Regions from separate parts of the Homo sapiens genome. Here region 2 is linked to region 1. The links are contacts of gene promoters, found by promoter capture Hi-C in human tissues and cell types (Jung and others, 2019). All regions are on one chromosome and are shown on one strand. The core of a region is centred on a gene start or on the middle of the fragment in contact, and the rest is flanking DNA. Distances in the headings are between cores, read along the strand shown.

What was found. Contacts are between HindIII fragments. The study calls those that stand out against the background at their distance.
Region 2: a contact is called between a fragment that was not itself captured here and the fragment with the promoter of CCPG1 in region 1, in 1 of the 25 tissues and cell types used here (dorsolateral prefrontal cortex).

What each region holds. Positions count from the first base shown.
Region 1 is chr15:55,407,109-55,412,128 of GRCh38, reverse strand. CCPG1 (cell cycle progression 1) reads left to right here and starts at 3,770. Exons shown (of 9, transcript NM_001204450.2): 1 at 3,770-3,908. It overlaps PIERCE2 (piercer of microtubule wall 2), which reads right to left and starts at 3,634. Exons shown (of 2, transcript NM_001198784.2): 1 at 3,343-3,634. The coding sequence starts at 3,360. All of the region lies in intron 8 of DNAAF4-CCPG1 (DNAAF4-CCPG1 readthrough (NMD candidate)), which reads left to right. RefSeq lists enhancers at 3,391-3,590, 3,641-3,910, 4,271-4,550. The HindIII fragment of the contact is 18,708 bases long and covers 1-5,020 here.
Region 2 is chr15:53,977,441-53,982,460 of GRCh38, reverse strand. It overlaps UNC13C (unc-13 homolog C), which reads right to left and starts at 4,020. Exons shown (of 33, transcript NM_001080534.3): 1 at 3,534-4,020. LOC124903495 (a long non-coding RNA gene) reads left to right here. Exons shown (of 2, transcript XR_007064646.1): 2 at 4,916-5,020. The HindIII fragment of the contact is 4,386 bases long and covers 551-4,936 here.

The DNA of each region.
Region 1 (5,020 bases), core at 2,521-5,020:
ATGGGATCAATTTTTTTTTTTTTTTTTTTTTTTTTGTGGAGACAAAGTCTCACTCTGTTGCCCAGTCTGGAGTGCAATGGTGTGATCTTGGCTCACTGCAACCTCTGCCTCCTGGGTTCAAGCAATTCTCCTGCCTTAGCCTCCCAAATCGCTGGGCTTAAAGGCGTGCGCCACCACGCTCAGCTAAATTTATTTATTTTTTTTTGTGAGAAGGAGTTTTGCTCTTGTTGCCCAGGCTGGAGGGCAATGGTGCAATCTCAGCTCACCGCAACCTCCGCCTTCTGGGTTCAAGCCATTCTCCTGCCTCAGACTCCCGAGTAGCTGTGATTACAGGCATGCACCACCATGCCTGGCTAATTGTGTATTTTTAGTAGAGATGGGGTTTCTCCATGTTAGTCAGGTTGGTCTCGAACTCCCAACCTCAGGTGATCCGCCCGCCTCGGCCTCCCAAAGTGCTGGAATTACAAGCGTGAGCCACCGTGCCTAGCCTAATTTTTGTATTTTTAGTAGAGATGGGGTTTCACCATGATGGCCAGGCTGGTTTTGGACTCCTGACCTCAAGTGATCCACCTGCCTCGGCTTCCCAAAGTGTTGGGATTACAGGTGTGAGCCACTGCGCCTGGCCAAATGGAATCAATTTTTATCACTATTTTATTTTATTTTTTGAGATGGAGTTTTGCTCTGTCACCTAAGCTGGAGTGCAGTGGCGCAGTCGCAGCTCATTGTAACCTCTGCGTCCCAGGTTCAAGTGATTCCCCTGCCTCAGCTTCCAGAGTAGCTGGGACTACAGGTGCCTGCCAACACACCTGGCTAATTTTTGTGTTTTTAGTAGAAATGGGGTTTCACCATGTTGGCCAGGCTGTTCCCAAACTCCTGACCTCTGATGATCCGCCTACCTCAGCTTTCCAAAGTGCTGGGACTACAGTCGTGAGCCACCATGCCTCACCAAATTTTATTATTTTCTTTTTTGCAGGTTTACCTCAATGTATGATCTTCCAGAAACAGTTCTGAAACCTACAGGTTAATGACCTTGTATTAGCATAATATGGTTTGCTAATATTCACTTAATACTCATAAGTTTGTAGTTGGCAAAGCTGGAAATAGAACTCAGGTTCACTGAGTGTCATCAATGTTATTCTCATCAGATCTTGCTGTTTATTCTTTTTGAAACTGCTTATTAATTTGCTTTAAATATTAACAACACAGATACTGGATAATAGTAAATCATAAGAATTTTAAAATTTTGATGGTATCTCAACTGATCAGCTTTTCTTAAATTTTCTAGGTTTCCTCAGCACAGGGGAAAGCTTTATAGGTGGAAGGTGGAGGCCCTGTGACTTGCGCAGAAAAGTACCACTGTAATTTACTTTTATGGGCACCTAAGCAGGTTGCCCAGGGCAACTTGTAGATTTTGTTGTTGTTGTTGTTAATACTATCTCCTTCAGTCACTGAGAACTCTTTTTTATTTTTTTATTTTTTGAGATGGAGTTTTGCTCTTGTTGCCTAGGCTGGAGTGCAGTGGCGTGATCTTGGCTCACTGCAACCTCCGCCTCCCGGATTCAAGCGATTCTCTTGCCTCAGCCACCCGAGTAGCTGGGATTATAGGCATGCGTCACCACGCCCGGCTAATTTTGTGTTTTTAGTAGAGATAGTGTTTCTCCATGTTGGTCAGGCTGGTCTCGAACTCTTGAACTCAGGCGATTCGCCTGCCTCGGCCTCCCAGAGTACTGGGCCTTAAATGCTGGAATTATAGGCATGAGCCACCGCGCCCAGCTGAGAACTCTTCTTGTTATCAAATGACCCTCTTTACTACTGGTTCTAGAATTTCGTTCAGCTTTGGCTCAAAACATAATGCAGAAAACGAAATCTAGTAAAAACAGAAGACAAATTAGCTGATAAACTTTGTTGGCATAATTAGTACCATAAAATCTGGAAAAGCTAAATCTTAAATTAAAAATTTTTTAGATTTCCAGGATAATTCACAAATGTTTATAGATTCAGAAACAAAAGGTCCATTGCTTTATACTTTACATCATAGACAACCACTGCAGTTTTCTAATATGGGTTTCACCTTCTTCAAACCTGATATTCTTAAAATGTGGAGTTCAAACTGACTATAGTTAAGAACGAAACAAATAGCCAATACAAAGAATAATAAAAGGATGAGTTCAAATTATCTGCCACATGTCATCAACTTTTATTAAATGATAAAAAGGTTAATTAAAATTGTAAATGATTTTTCAGAAGAAATTACATCTTAAAATTGGCCTGTGAAAGTGGCTTGAAAGGTATAAAAATCTACCAGTAGCTGGTATTAGCTTTCTTAGTAATTTAATTTTCAGTTAGAGAAAGCCAGACCACTTTGACCTTTCGAAGTCCTTTGGTATAGATACATATACATTTAAAAAGATAAATGAAAACAAGCCATTGATTAATAATGCCCATCGCAGAAGCTGTAATTATAAAATTAAGATTTTTTGATGTCACTGTTGATGTTGAATATAGTTAATAGAAAAGCAAAAATAAAAAATAAAAAAGGTCTAATTTTGAGGCACTCTTTTGTCTCTGCTCAGGTCCACCGTCTTCCTTGCTAATGTTTACGTTTATTATTAATTTTTCCATTTATTTATTTACTTTTACCACAATTAGGGGACAGAGAATGAAACCTAAACTTTTTATTGCTTCTGTAAAGAGTGAATATAAATGTAAGATTTTTTTTTTTTGAGACGGAGTTTTGCTCTTGTTGCCCAGGCTGCAGTTCAGTGGCGCAATCTCGGCTCACTGCAACCTCTGCCTCCCAGGTTCAAGCAATTCTGCTGTCTCAGCCTCCCAAGTAGCTGGGATTACAGGCCCGCGCCACCTCTCCTGGCTAATTTTTTGTATTTAGTAGAGACGGAGTTTCACCATGTAGGTCAGGCTGGTCTCGAACTCCTGACCTCAGGTGATCCACCCGCTTCGGCCTCCCAAATTGCTGGGATTACAGGCGTTGAGCCCCGGCGCCCGGCCACCAAATCCTTTTTCAAAACAACTCCCTTCTTTGACACAGTGCAATTTAAATAAGTATACAATTAACAAAGTACGTTTTTCTTGTTCAAAACCATCACTGAACAGTTTGCAACAGTAGGGTATGAATGCATACAATCTCGATGGTCTTTACACCTTCAGAGGCTATTCGGACTTAAGGAAACGTGCATTTACAAGTGTAAATGTAAAAGCTCAGTAGTTGCCTTGTAAAGTGCTTTTCGGGGTTGTGGGGTTGGGGGTGGTAGGAGTAGGTGGTGCCTCAAATTATACTAGCGAATACCAACATTCCCAAACATCTAGCCCTCTGCCTAAACTCACCCGGTTGCGGTCTGTCATTTTCGCTCTTCTTTGTTAATTTTTTCGGCAAAGTCAGTTTTCATGCAGCAGATGGCAAGAAAGCCGGTGAACGCCTAGGGACGTGGCCTTTTAACCGCACCCAATTAAAGCAGCAAACAGAAGATGAATAGCTGGGTGGATCAGTATGTGTAAACCTATCCGTTTAATCCGGGGAGCTGTTTTCCCGGGTGAAACCACGAATTCTTTCTGGAGGTTGCAACTCGTAACCATAGCAACTGGAAGTGGTCGCCGGCTCCCGGATGTTGTGGGGATCTGCGGCCGCCTGGCCCAGCTTCCCGCAGCCGCCCGGCGGCGGCCTGCGCTCCACTTCGGGAGTGGTAGTTCTTCTCTTCACCGCTGCCGGGCAGGAGGCGCAGGCGGGACTACGCGTCACGGCATGCACTGCGGCGCCCAGCCGGTCACCGCCTGCCGGCTGCAGACGCCTGCGAGCAGGTTGTTTTTATAAGAGGCGTCATTGGCGCCCGAGCTGTGACCGCCGCCACTGGGGCAGCCAGCACAATCGGGCGGAGGTGGCGCTGCCCCTTCAGGTACTGTACTAGGCGGGCTTAGACCCCGGGAGGGGGTTTGTGCCGACTGTCTGAGTCCCTGGCCGACACGCTCGGCTCAGTAGAGGAGCAGTGGCGGGGTCCGCCTCCTAGGCTGGGGCTGCTCGGGCGGGGACTTGACGCCTGGTGTCAGCGGCCGCACGGGCGACCTCCTCGGGCCGTGCGCGAGTGCACAGCTCCGGAGGCCCGAGCCGACCCTGGGGCGTCCGGTCCGGTGGTCTTGCAGCCTCCAAACCCCGAGTGCTATACCGAACTGCGCGCCAAGGGTGGGAGAGCTGACGGCCTGGGCCACCCTTCTTCCTTCACTGGGCAGGCTTTGAGGTGCTTGTCGGTCTGGACTGATGAAAATCCATATGGTAAGATGTTATGTGCGTCACCCTGCCGGGTTTAATGCCAGCCTGTCTTTTGATGACATTTGAGCCCCCGTGATGTCAGGAATAGAAAGATTAAATATTAAATAATGCCCGGAGACTTCCGCTAGCACGCCAGCCTGATGATGATCAAATACCTCTCCATATCCTTCTCCAGTTCCAGTGGCCTCCTTTAGCTTTGGTCTCCCTAATCGATTTGTCCTCATTAGCAGCTGTCCCATGCAGTGCCTTGTACGCGTTGTTTATGTTTAGCACTATTGGGAGCGCCAAGTAAGGTATTTTATTGAGTGGTGAAGTTTGCACTGTTCTGCTCTACTTTTATTGAAAAACACAGTTGGGCATTCTTGTAGTTAGAATAGCTAACTATATAGTACTATGAATTTTAGATTTGTCTCCTCCAATCTACAGGATAGTGCTTGAAATATCGCTATTACTGCATCGTATCTTTTAAGATTAGAATCATATTGGGTCCCACACGTCTCAGGGGATATTTATCACACACATCCAGTGTGAATGGTTTACTTTTATTTTCTGAGTTCAGGTCATATAGCAGAAGATGGAGATGGTGAGGGTATTATTTTAATTCATATTTTTTTTTTTTTTGAGAGAGGGTTTCGCTCTTGTTGCCCAGGCTGGAGTGCAGTGGCGCGATCTCGGCTCACTGCAACCTCTGCCTTCCAGTTTCAAACGATTCTCCTGCCTCAGCCTCCCGAGTATCTGGGA
Region 2 (5,020 bases), core at 1,494-3,993, 1.4 Mb after region 1:
CTAAGCCATTAGTTCTTCCCACCTATAAAGGAAATAGCCACCCACTCTGTCCAATCACTGCTCTTTTTCTTTTATATTTTACATGCTTCGAGAAGCTACTTCTAGAGTAAATAATTTCAACTTATAAAACACATGAAGCAAAATATTTTCATGCAAAACACTTTTTCCCCATCAAAAAGACATATTGCACCCAGATTCTCAAGAACCAGAAGGCTCAGAAACAAAGTATGTTTTATCCTGAACGCAGGATTTGGGCCAACAAAAATTGGCTGTTGGGAGCAAAAGACAGGCTGAAGATGGGATTGTGAAAATGTAGGGAGACAAGAAAATATTTGAAAGGGAAGCCCATCTTTTATGATTACTTTTTAAAAATACTTCGAAATCTCTGAGTACAATTTATAATGTTGAGTTCCTATCTTTCTATCTAGCATTTATTTCTACAAAATATTTTCTTAACTGTTTACATAGGAAGAATAATATAAAACTCTCTTCCATATCAAGATTATAATTAATTTCTGTATGCTGAGACTAAAATATACAATATGACTAGGATATAAAAGAGATGGGAAACATTTATGCCTACTGCATCACAACCATTTTGACAAGAGATGGAGAAACGATTCAGTGTGTCTTATTGTCTACTTCTCCTCTGGGGGACTTTTGACCTAGAGGTTAGAATATTTATTCCTGTCTCCCTTCCTATGCCTTAAAAGACTACAAGTGAAACAAATACTGCTGTGGCATCCATTTTCTCTGTAGAGATTATAGAACCGGTGATCAGTCTTTTGCATTCTCAAAAGCTACAGATTGAGAGGGCTATTAATAAATCCTTTTTTTTAAGCTAGAAGAAAGTTGGAGCCTAGTGATCCAACCACAGACAACTTAAGATCCAGAAAGGATTTGTAATAACAACAGAAATACAAATTTGATACTTTGAATTTGCAATTTTTTGCTACAGTTATTCTAAATGCATATTACCAAATGAATTGATATTAGGTACAAACTATGACCTATTTAGAAAGTGGCTTTCTAGCTATAAAAGTGTATTTCAGAAACAAACTTGGCATGTATTTAAAACTCTTAAAATTTCTAGATGCAAAGCAGGATTGTTTTTCTTGGGTGACAAAATGATTCTAATGTCTTCAAAAATTCTAGAGAATGCCTTTCCGTAGTAAAGACTATGGGATGGAAAGAATGAATAACAGAAACATATATGTTGAAACTGGAAGACAACGTACAGGTGGCATAATACTTCAGAGAAGTTATGGCAGGGTTTATGCATTGCATTAGCTGAAAAGGTTAACAGAAATGAAAGTGCCTGGAGAATCGGGGAAAAGATATTATCATACCAAAAGTGTCTGATATTACAAAAAACAGAGGTTTGCCCTAAATCAGCAGACAACGAAGTACGTTCTCTTCTGCACTGACCTTCCTCCCAACCCCACCTAAGCCCCAACATACATTTGGTGTGTTTTGTCTTTAAAAGGGGAATCACTGCAATTATCCTGTGTTTCCAATGACCCATGGGCTCTTAAGCAACTAGTTCTGTGCACCACAAACTATATTGCTTCACATTTAAAGATTAGCAACCATAGCAAGTTATTATATGGCCTGGAAAGGAAAACAGTTTACTTTATTAACAATAAGCCCATGAAAAGTGATTTCTCTAGGCTTTGCTAACACTTTACCTCGTATTTCACCTGGGCATGAATTTACCTAGCACATAGTGATGATGATCTCTGGAAGGAGTTTCCAGATTTCTTTAATGGAGGTCTAACAACAAATTATTGAATGCTAGGAAATAAACCCTTACCTACTATCCACCTTCAAATTTTACTGAAAAAACATTGGCAATTCTACTGAAATTACTTTCTCAACAAAATTCCATTATAGTTTGAAAATACAATTTTGTAAATTAGAGTTTCAAATATTCTTTTAGATGATCCTTGATCAGTTTATTAGTTTAAAAAATTACTTAATGGATTCAGTAAAATTACTGCTATAGTGTTTCACCTACAGACATCATAAGCTTCTTTATACAAGATGTCAACATAGAAGAAACACACAATGTTTTTCACTCCCTACTAACAAACATAAACTTAATACTTTGCTCATTTTCTAAATCACTCCTCTGGTATCAAGAATTGCCTATACTTACCATATTTTGACATTGTTGTTGTTATAGTCATGCGTGGAATTTTAAAACAAATGATTTCCTCATTTTGTTTACGGCCTAAGTGCTCCAGATAGCTACCATTTGGCAAAAATGAGGTTTATAGTTTTCAAAGAGCAGGGTGGTGATTTACTTTACAGTATGCATAAATGACAATTTAAAGCCCACTTACCTCTATTGCATTTGAACTTTTTAATCATAAGAAAGTGGGAACAACAATAATTAAAAGCCAGGGTCCTAGAGCTTTGGCATTAACTCTGTGTTAACACTAAAAATCTATTAAATATTTTATATATACAAAAATGTAGTACTTTCTCATTCTCGTTTCTCCCCTCCAGAAAATCTCATTTAATATAGACATATGCACATTTAATTTATTGACAATTTAACCCACTTTTATGAAAAGTATTGATGAGCAAAAGGTGGTAAGATGATTTTCTAAAAATCATTAAGTTTTTTATTAATTTCAAAATTATATAAACTTACAATTTTAGCTTCTTAAAGAAATGCAGAGTATTTTAAAACTAATCTTTATAAGCATTACCCACCCTCAAACCTCTTTCCTGTTTTTCCTTAAAAGCCTAACGAGGAAAATTGATTTTTAAGTGTTGTCATCTCCGTCTAGGTACTAAAGACAGCCAACATTACTATTGTTGTATATCTGTCTTACTCTTGATGATACAAGTATATTGATGATGTAATTGCAGAAGTTAGGGTTTACTCATGCTGTTGGACCAAAGGGATTTTTTTAGACTGCCTCCTTGAGCACCACAGAACAGTTGTAAAACAGAACCAAGCACACAATTTAAGCAATTCATCTCTTGAAAGTAAATCTGCAGGATCTTCTTCTTGAAGAACTGATGAAGAGCTAGAAATAAAAAAATCATTGGTAAAGCTTCTTTTGCTTCAGACTGGATGCTGAGCTGGAAAAACACTTGGGTGACACACTAGTGTATGACATCTTGGCTTTTAACCCTTTCCTAGAAGCCCTCAACTTTTGTTCTCTGTTGAGCTCTATTTTTTTCTTCCAAAATTCCGAGGGGTTATGGAATATCCCAGCCTTTCATCTCAACCCTATTTGTCCCTATGTAGATATTCTCCTGAAAGTTGACTGGAAACTAAGCAGTCATTTATCATTCTGAATTCTTTTTTTAAAAGCAATGACTGAGAAGTCATGATGCTCCATAGAATCATGTACATTATAAAAACAGGAGAGCCGAGATTTTACAAATATATCTGCTACGCTAAGAGAACCCCATGGTTGTGATTTCCAAGTGCAAACAAAAAGAAGGGACAGGAAAATACAGACAGAAAATCGCATGCAGATGAAGCAGTGCGTGCAACGGAGGAAAGAACATACCTGAGGAATTCTCCTTTAAAAAAAAATGTGCACGCCAACTGGGTTGTTCTTCCCCTCCTTTTGGAGTGTATGTGTTTTCCTTTTAGGAACACCACTTGCAATTGTGTTTCTAGTCTCGTTTCCTTTTTTCAATCACAAATAGTTAGAACAGGAGTGGAAGCTGCGTCCCAGGGATCCGACTCGTGCAATCAGGCATGCCTTGGTCTGCAACGGTGTCTGTTCTTTTCTTGTCAATTCTATCGCACTCCCGGGTAGCCTCCGAAGCAATTCTACAACTTAGCTGCTGGCAAGAAACTGCCTTTCACTCTTCTCATTGCCAAATACCTTCCGCGGCTCATTTCTCATCTCTTTCTCCCAGAAAGCAAAATGGGATCTCTCCCGTGTGTTGAGGAGCGCCCAGGCTCATCAACATTTGAGGGTGAGGAGCAGCCGGGCTGAGTGCGTGCTGGGAACTTCACACATCGCCGGCTGCGGCTGAGTCTTTTCTGAATGCAGCACCGGCACTGCGATCCCCAGCCTCCTCCACCGAGAGCGCCCGGGCTCCCTCTCCTGCCGCCGTAGCACGGCGTAGCTCCGAGAGGGTGAGCTACAGCCCCTGCTCACAGGAGACGCACTGTAGCCACTGCCAGGTGTGGCCTTCACCACCGCACTGACAACTAACTGTGTGGGACACAGCTTCATCGCTGGGAGACGCCTGAATGCCAGAGCTTCCTCAGCCTATCTTCCCTTTATCGCTGGATGATGACCTAGGAGACAGTCATGGCCAATTCTGCCAGTGGAATAGCGTGGATAATACTAAATTACCCATGTTATTCAACAATGACTGTTTTAGATGTACTTGACTGTACTTGGAATTATGAAAGTATACCGCACACAGTATCATTCCCTATTAGCCACCAAATGCAGCTAACAGGACCCTGTATTTAAATAGAGGAGATACTGATATCCCATCCCAGTTGGTTTTTCCTCTTATTTTTGTGGAAAACCATTTGAAGGTGATTCCTGAACAATTTCAATTAATGACACATGCATAAATCAAAGTGGGAAATGATGGGTAACTTACAGTGATGCAAAGGTTTTTCTTCTCACTTAGGAATAATGTCTTTTCATTTGATGTTAACATTTTAAAGATCTGGCTGGGAATTGAATGGACTTGCTTTCTCTTTTAGTTTTGCTGAGTAGAGGAGGTGGGGGGAGTAACAGTTCCCACTTTCCATCAATAAAGCATTTTCAATCCTCTAATCCTCCTGTTGAAACAAATAAAAAAGTACTGAATCTTAAAATACAGCCTTAAAGCAGCTTGAGGCCTGAAATAATTTGGAGGTTTTAAGCTACATCTGCTCTACTGCTTACTTAAAATTTTACTTTTCTTTGCTTTTTAGAAAATGGAAGGATATTTCCAGGACTGAAGAACGTCAACTAGCAGCTGTGGTTAAACAGTATAGGAAGCATATATACAGATTTGTATGGCATTTTTCAGTACATGG